2 separate regions of the Homo sapiens genome follow, and region 1 is linked to region 2. Evidence: promoter capture Hi-C in 16 types of primary human blood cells and fetal thymus (Javierre and others, 2016). All regions are on one chromosome and are shown on one strand. The core of a region is centred on a gene start or on the middle of the fragment in contact, and the rest is flanking DNA. Distances in the headings are between cores, read along the strand shown. Region 1 overlaps LINC02733 (long intergenic non-protein coding RNA 2733). Region 2 holds the start of FADS1 (fatty acid desaturase 1).

What was found. Contacts are between HindIII fragments. The CHiCAGO score rates a contact against its expected background, and 5 or more counts as called.
Region 1: a contact is called between a fragment that was not itself captured here and the fragment with the promoter of FADS1 in region 2, in 4 of 17 cell types (neutrophils, naive B cells, naive CD4 T cells and 1 more). The highest score is 11.6, in neutrophils.

Annotation. Positions count from the first base shown.
Region 1 is chr11:62,063,281-62,067,211 of GRCh38, forward strand. The region is part of intron 1 of LINC02733 (long intergenic non-protein coding RNA 2733); the gene reads right to left. Among named protein-coding and RNA genes, the nearest start is that of LINC02733, 17 kb to the right of the region's middle. The HindIII fragment of the contact is 8,726 bases long and covers 1-3,931 here.
Region 2 is chr11:61,815,560-61,819,214 of GRCh38, forward strand. FADS1 (fatty acid desaturase 1) reads right to left here and starts at 1,444. Exons shown (of 12, transcript NM_013402.7): 1 at 996-1,444. The coding sequence starts at 1,370. LOC124902680 (a long non-coding RNA gene) reads left to right here and starts at 2,461. Exons shown (of 2, transcript XR_007062696.1): 1 at 2,461-3,655. It also overlaps a transcript of FADS2 not described here. RefSeq lists an enhancer at 1-645 and silencers at 1,166-1,365, 1,706-1,805. The HindIII fragment of the contact is 2,548 bases long and covers 463-3,010 here.

The DNA of each region.
Region 1 (3,931 bases), core at 1,360-3,859, 250 kb after region 2:
CCAGATACCAAATCTGCAGGCACCTTGATCTTGGACTTCCCAGCCTCCAAAACTGTGAAAAAAAGAACTGTTGACTGACCAGCTTCAAGGGTTCCCACGGCCCCCTCTTTAGGCTCAATTAATTTGCTAGAGCAACTTACAGGATTCAGGGAAATACTGATGTTTACCAGTTTATTATAGAAGATATGACGAAGGATACAGATGAAGAGGTGCATAAAAAGAGATATGGGGGTGCTGAGTGTGGTGGCTCACACCTGTAATCCCAGCACCTTGGGAGGTTGAGGTGGGCAGAGCACAAGGTCAGGAGTTTGAGACCAGCCTGGCCAACATGGTGAAACCCCATCTCTACTAAAAAAATTTAAAAATTAGCTGGGCATGGTGGCACACGCCTGGAGTCCCGGCTACTCGGGAGGCTGAGGCAGGAGAATCGCTTGAACCTGGGAGGTGGAGGTTGCAGTGAGCCGAGATGGTGCCACTGTACTCCAGCCTGGGCAACAAAGCAAGACTCCATCTCAAAACAAACAAACAAACAAAAAGGTATGGGGGAGGAGAATGGAGCTTCCACGCCCTCCCCAGGCAAATCACACTCCAAGAACCTTTCTGTGTTCAGCTGTCTGGAAGCTCTTCATACTCCATCCTCCTGGGCTTTTTTTTTTTTTTTTTTTTGAGATGGAGTTTGGCTCTTGTTGCCCAGGCTGGAGTGCAATGGCCCAGCCTCAGCTCACTGAAACCTCCACCTCCCGGGTTCAAGCTATTCTCCTGCCTCAGCCTCCCAAGTAGCTGGGATTACAGATAGCCCACCACCACACCCAGCTAATTTTTGTATTTTTTGTAGAGACGGGGTTTCACCATGTTGGTCAGGCTGGTCTTGAACTCCTGACCTCAGGCAATCTGTTCGCCTTGGCCTCCCAAAGTGTTGGAAGCACAGGTGTGAGCCACCACGCCTGGCCCCTCCTTGGCTTTTTATGGAGACTTCATTGGTTAGACATGATTGAAGCATGGACAGCCATGCAGAAATGTGATTGAACCAAAAGGGATTGATCAAAGGCTAATGGACTGACTCAGGAATGCCAGCAAGGCCTGTCTATCTAGATTCTTCTTGACCTCTCTGTGCAGCTGTCCTTCCTCCAGGGTATGGGGCAGGATCTTGTCTGGAATGGTTGTCTTGTAACCTACAATTAGGCGAGGTAGGTTGGGGAATTTCTTTAGGGCTAGCTCCTAGACAAAAAGGCAGGAAAATGATTACTGCCTTGGGGAGAAAAAGGAGCAGGTAAAAGGAGGGCAGGAGAAGGTCAGGGAGAGAGATTCTGTTTTCTGAGGCTGGGTCAGAGGCCTAAAACACCCCAATATTATCACAAAAGACTATGACAAGGGCTATGGGAGTTATGAGCCAGAAACCATGGGTGAGAACCAATACATATGTATCATAATGTCACACCAACTAACCAGCTCTGAAGTTTTCACTTTTCCCTGGAGCTTTCTATTTCTTCTGCTATCTTTTTTCCTTTTTTTTTTTTTTTTTTTTTTTTTGAGTTTCACTCTTGTTGCCCAGGCTGGAGTGCAATGGCCTGGTCTTGGCTCACCACAACCTCTGCCTTCTGGGTTCAAGTGATTCTCCTCCTCAGCCTCCGGAGTACCTGGGATTACAGGCACCTGCCACCACGCCTGGCTAATTTTGTATTTTTAGTAGAGATGGGGTTTCTCCATGTTGGTCAAGCTGGTCTCAAACTCCCAACCTCAGAAGATCCACCCACCTCGGCCTCCCAAAGTGCTGGGATTACAGGCATGAGCCACAGCGCCCAGCCTATTTCTTCTGCTTTCTTGTGGGCTATTTCTCCCCCTTGATCTTCTCTTCCAATGTTCCTTCCTCCTTTGCCTGGGAAGGCCCTGATGAACACCACCAGACTTGGATACCCACCTACCGATGGAGCAAATGAAGAGAGGATCAAGGACAAAGCCCTTTAACGTCCCTCCATCTTGGTGCCTCCCTCACCAGCACTCAGACCAGAAGTATCAGGCAGAGAAGAAGCCTTAAAAACTCTTTCCACAGTGTCCAGCCTTGGAGGAATTGGAGAACAGCAGCTAAAGCCTGAATTTGAGGGATAAAGATAAAGTATGGAGAAGGCCGAAATTAAACCCAAATCTGTATCAACTCAGGGCTTTCACAGGCAGCAAAGACCCCTAGATCTATCATGAATCTGAGTCATTGCCTTGTAGCCCCTATCTAGCAGTTGATCTGTTGATATTTCCATTCTTCATTCAATTTCAACTTACAAGGGGACTTCTCTCACACCAGCACTCCACAAACTGTTGTGGGTGATGCCAAGACACCAAACGACAACATCCAGCCCTTAGTGAGCTGGTGGTGGGAATGTGAGAAGCACATGGAAGATACATGCTGGTCTCTATGGTTAGTTCAGCATCCAACTGCACACACAGTTGATGCATGCCAGAGGAGTTCAAAGGAAGGTATATTTAGGGACTGTATTAGTGTCCTCTGGGTGCCGTCACAAAGTGCCACAAGCTGGGTGGCTTAAAACAGCAGAGATTTAGGCCGGGCGTGGTGGCTCACACCTGTAATCCCAGCACTTTGGGAGGCCGAGGTGGGTGGATCACCTGAGGTTGGGAGATCGAGACCAGCCTGACCAACACGGAGAAACCCCGTCTCTACTAAAAATACAAAAATTAGCTGGGCATGGTGGCGGGTGCCTGTAATCTGAACTACTCGGGAGGCTGAGGCAGGAGAATTGCTTGAACCTGGGAGGCACAGGTTGTGGTGAGCTGAGATTGCGCCACTGCACTCCAGCCTGGGCAACAAGAGCAAAACTTCATCTCAAAACAAACAAACAAACAAACAAACAAACAAAACAGCACAGATTTATTCTCTCATAGCTTTGAAGGTGAAAAGTCCAAAATTTCCAGGCAAGACTCCTTCCTCAATTAGGAGTCTTCAGCTGTTGGTTGTTGCCAGCTATCCATACCATTCCTTGGCTTTGTAACTGCATCACCCTGATTCTGTCTTCATCTTACATGGCTGTGTTCTTTCTGTGTGTGTCTCTGCCTCTGTGACCAAATTTCTCTCTTCTTACAAAGAAGAAGTTATAGCCCACCTGAATCCAGTATTACCTTATTTTTACTTGGTTACATCTGTAAAGATCCTATTTCTTTTTTTATTTTAACTCAGCTAAAAAAGATCACATTTCCAGGCTGGGCGTGGTGGCTCATGCCTGTAATCCCAACACTACGGGAAGCCAAGGTGGCAGGATCATTTGAGCCCAGGAGTTCGAGACCAGCGTGGGCAACATGGCGAAAGTCTGTCTCTACAAAATAATACAAAAATTAGCCAGGAGTGGTGGTGCGTGCCTATAGTTGCAGCTACTTGGGAAGCTGGAGCAGGAGGATCTCTTGAATCTGGGAGATGGAGAGTGCAGTGAGCCAAGGTTTCGCCACTGCACTCCAGCCTGGGCGACAGAGTGAGTCCCTGTCTCAAAAAAAACTAAAACATAAAAGGAAAGAAAAGATCTTATTTTTTTTAATTTTTATATTTTTTGAGACAGCATCTCGCTCTGTCGCCCAGGCTGGAGTGCAATGGCATGATCTCGGCTCACTGCAACCTCCACCTCCTGGGTTCAAGCGATTCTCCTGCCTCAGCCTCCCGAGTAGCTGGGACTACAGGCACCCGCCACCACGCCCAGCTAATTTTTATACTTTTAATAGAGACGGGGTTTCATCATGTTGGCCAGGATGGTCTCAATCTCTTGACCTTGTGATCCACCCGCCTTGGCCTCCCAAAGTGCTGGGATTACAGGCGTGAGCCACCGCGCCCAGCCAGAAAAGATCTTATTTTTAAATAAAATCATGTTCACAGGGACTGGGGTTAGGACTTGAATATATCTTTTGAGGGGACACAATGCGACCTATACCAGGTAGA
Region 2 (3,655 bases), core at 194-2,693:
GGGACGCCATTCTGGCCGCCAAGGGGGAAACGCGGTGAAGGGAACGCCCCGACTTTCGAGTCCCTAGGACTGAGTCCCCAGGACTCCAACCCAGCAGAGAGGCGCCGGGGCCTTAGCTCTGAGGGCTGTGGTCTAGAAAGGGAAGCAGCAGGCCTGGGGCTGGGGCGCGCGCCGACCCCGCAGTGAGACCAAGGGAAGAAGGGACAGGACCCCGCGAAGGGCCTACCGCCCCAGAGCGTAAACAGCGGTCCGCTCCGCGGAATAGCTGAAGACCTCGCTGGCCTGCGGCTCAGTGGCCTCCCCGGCGATTCGAGAACAGCTCTGGGGGTCCTCGCTAAGTGTATGCCATTCCCAATCCCTTATGTACGCCAGCGGCCGCTTGCCCTCCCCGGCCAGCGCTGTCCCTTCCGCGTCCTCCAGTCTTCACACGACGCAGGGGTCCCCAAGGCAGCGGTCTCCCCAAGCTTCCCGTTTCAGCCCCATCCTCGAGAATGGGCTCCTTTCCTGCTCCCTCTCCGCTCCTGCTGGCGAGTGGAGACCGGCACCTAGGTCCAGACGCGGCTGCGCTGCCTCTCCTAGCCATCGAGACAGGATGTGACTCCCTCCCCTGGCCACTGACCCCCTCCCTCCCCAGGCGGCCTGCATCCTTGCTCTCCTCCCTCCTAGCCTACCCAGCTCGGGGTTCTGTCCCCGCCCAGAGACCTGAGGCTCGGGGCTGCAGATGGAATGCACGGCAGGGAGGCGGGACCCTTTGTTTGTGTGTGCGTGTTGTTGGCCTCCATCCCCACTCCCCAGACTCCACTTCTCCAGGCCTCTCTCCCGCCTTTTCATCCCGCATCCGCAGGACACCCAATCACCGGGCAACAGGTATGATCAGGCGCCTCCGGGCTTTCCTCCGAATTAGTCGGTGTTTGGCTCGGAGTGCGTAACTCTGTCTCCCCTGCACTCAGCCTCCGGTCCCGCCCTCTCCTGTGCCCCCGCCTGGCTGCGCTCACCGTGGCATCCTGCCCGGCGTAGTGGCTGATGACCCGGGAGCCCCCTGGATGCCGGCGGGTGAACTCGCTGATGTTGTACACCTTACGGTCGATCACTAGCCACCGCTCCTCGCACCCTGAGCGCTGGGCCACCTCGTCCCAGGTGAAGTAGCGCGGGGTAGGTCCCTGAGCCGCGGTCTCGGCGGCCACCGGGTCGGGGGCCATAGCTGGCCTGGCGACGCCGCGCGCCGGGCCAGCAGGGGCTGTCAGGCGCGTGCTCGGGGTCCGCGGGCTCCAGGAGTGGATTTGCTGGCGCGCGCCCAGAGCCAGCCGCCTGCGCGCCGGGTTTTCAGCACCGCAGGGCAGACCGGCGGGCCTCGCAGCGCGCGTTCCCATTGGCCGAGCCTCGTGGCGCGGGGAGCGAGATCCCGTCCCCCGGTGGGTCTTGGGCAACTCACAGCTGGGCTGCCAACACGCGCCCCCTCGCGGGCTCCCTAAAGGCGTCGCCGCCGGATTCGACTTCCTGACGTCAGGCGGGCATCGCGGCGTTGGCTCCCAGGGGGCGCCGCGGTAGGAACAGCGGTTCTAGTGCAGGCCCTGGGTGCGGGGCCGCGCTGCAGGAGTGAATGGACTGAGGGGCCAGGGCTGCGGGGTGGCCGCAGGAAGGGTGGGCGGGGCCGGGGTTGAGGTTTTTCCGTGCACGAGGCTGCCCGGGCGGTCGCGGACATCATCTTTAGGCTGTGGATGCCTTGGCCGGGGTCTCCAGACGCTGACCCTCCAGGGTTGGAAACTACTGCCTGCTTGCCACGTCGTGCCGCCAATTGTGCTGCCCGAAGTAGCAGCCTGAGAGCCCTTGAAAGTTGCAGTTATCTTGTGAACAGCATATTTACGGTCTCTTGGGCTTGGTGGTGGTTGGGGGAGGGCTGTTAATGCTTTAATTTGTTCAATGAAACATTTAAAATGCCCCACAATTTTTATAACCCTGTTTGCCTCTTTTTGTTTTTATTTTTATTGTATTTTGGAAAAATTCACTGGGATCCTTGAGTGATGATCCTAGCGTCTCCTGACCCTTAGGTGTTTCACCTGAAAAGCCTGGGTCTTCAAGCTGAGGCATTTCTGTTCTAGCCTGGAGGCGCCTAGGAGCCCTGGGAGACTTTTTAAGCAGAGAGATTTGGCATTTAGATCTCTGGGTTTTAGAGGAGTGGGAACGCACCTAAAAGTGGGGTTGCCAGTTACAAAGCTGTTGCAGTCCTGAAGAGACCCAGAGTTTAGGTCCAAAATTTTATTTATTCAACAAACACTTTATAAAGCACTTACTGTGTGCCAGGCACTGTTCTTAGCGTTTTGCAAACCTTAACTCATTTAATTCTCCTAACAACCCTATGAGGTTGGAACAATTAACCTAATTTACAGTGAAGAAACTGAGCCCGGGGGAGGTTATTTTGTCACACAGCTTGTAAGTGGAGGGCTGAGATTTGACCCTGGCCTGTGCTCTGAACTCTCAGGCTCTGCCATATTTCTCATTACACTGGTATTTGGGCACTTCAAAGGGAAAGGAAACATAACTGTCCCAAGCACTGAGCTAGATTCTGAGCACGTAGGAGTCAGGAGAGGGTGATACAGAATAGACTAGGTGAAATATGGCTAGATTTCTGGTAGAAAAGGATTAATTCATTCCATCCAAATTCTTCATTTTATAGATAAGAAAATTGAGGTTCGAAATGGGGAAGGGGCTTACCAAGTTCCCATAGGGAAGTTTAGATGTCCTGACTTCCAGGTAAGATGCCAGGCTATTGGACCCTGCTCAGGAATGATGGTCCACACAGCTGCACCTCTGTACAGCCAATATTCCTTTTTTAAAAACCTTGCCCAACAACTTGGCAGTGTCTAATGCGAGCTACAAAACATTTTCTATTCTTTGATCAAGCAGTTTCACTCTTGGTAAAGTAGGGGAGACTGTGCAAAGATGCAGAAATAGCCAATTTAATAGCAAAAACTGGAAATAAACCCGAGTCCTGACAATAAGAAAATCGCCAAGCTTATTGGGATCTGTTAACACAATGAAGAATTAAAGAATGATTTTAAATGGCTAGAATGTGAACTATATTGATAGATATAGAATCCTTCCCCGTGAAATAAGCAGAACCCAAAGTAGTATGGGTTCGCTGATTACAACTATATAAGAAATTCATGGGTATTAAATAACAGAAGAGAGGTCCTTTACATAAACCATTTTTCCTATGTGACTGTGCAGTGGGATAAAAGCTCTCATACTGCTGGTAGAAGTGTAAGTTGATTAAACTGGAAAAAATAGTTTGACAACTTATATAGAAATTTAAGATTTTTTTTTTTTTTGAGATGGAGTCTCGCTCTGTCGCCCAGGCTGGAGTGCAGTGGCCTGATCTCAGCTTGCTGCAAGCTCCACCTCCCAGGTTCATGGCATTCTCCTGCCTTAGCCTCCCAAGTAGCTGGGACTACAGGTGCCCGCCACCACGCCCAGCTAATTTTGTTTTTGTATTTTTAGTAGAGTTGGGGTTTCACCATGTTAGCCAGGATGGCTTTGATCTCCTGACCTCGTGATCTGCCCGCCTCGGCCTCCCAAAGTGCTGGGATTACAGGCGTGAGCCACCGCACCCGGCCAGAATTTAGGAATGTTTTGAATACTGAAGAGATGAAAAAAA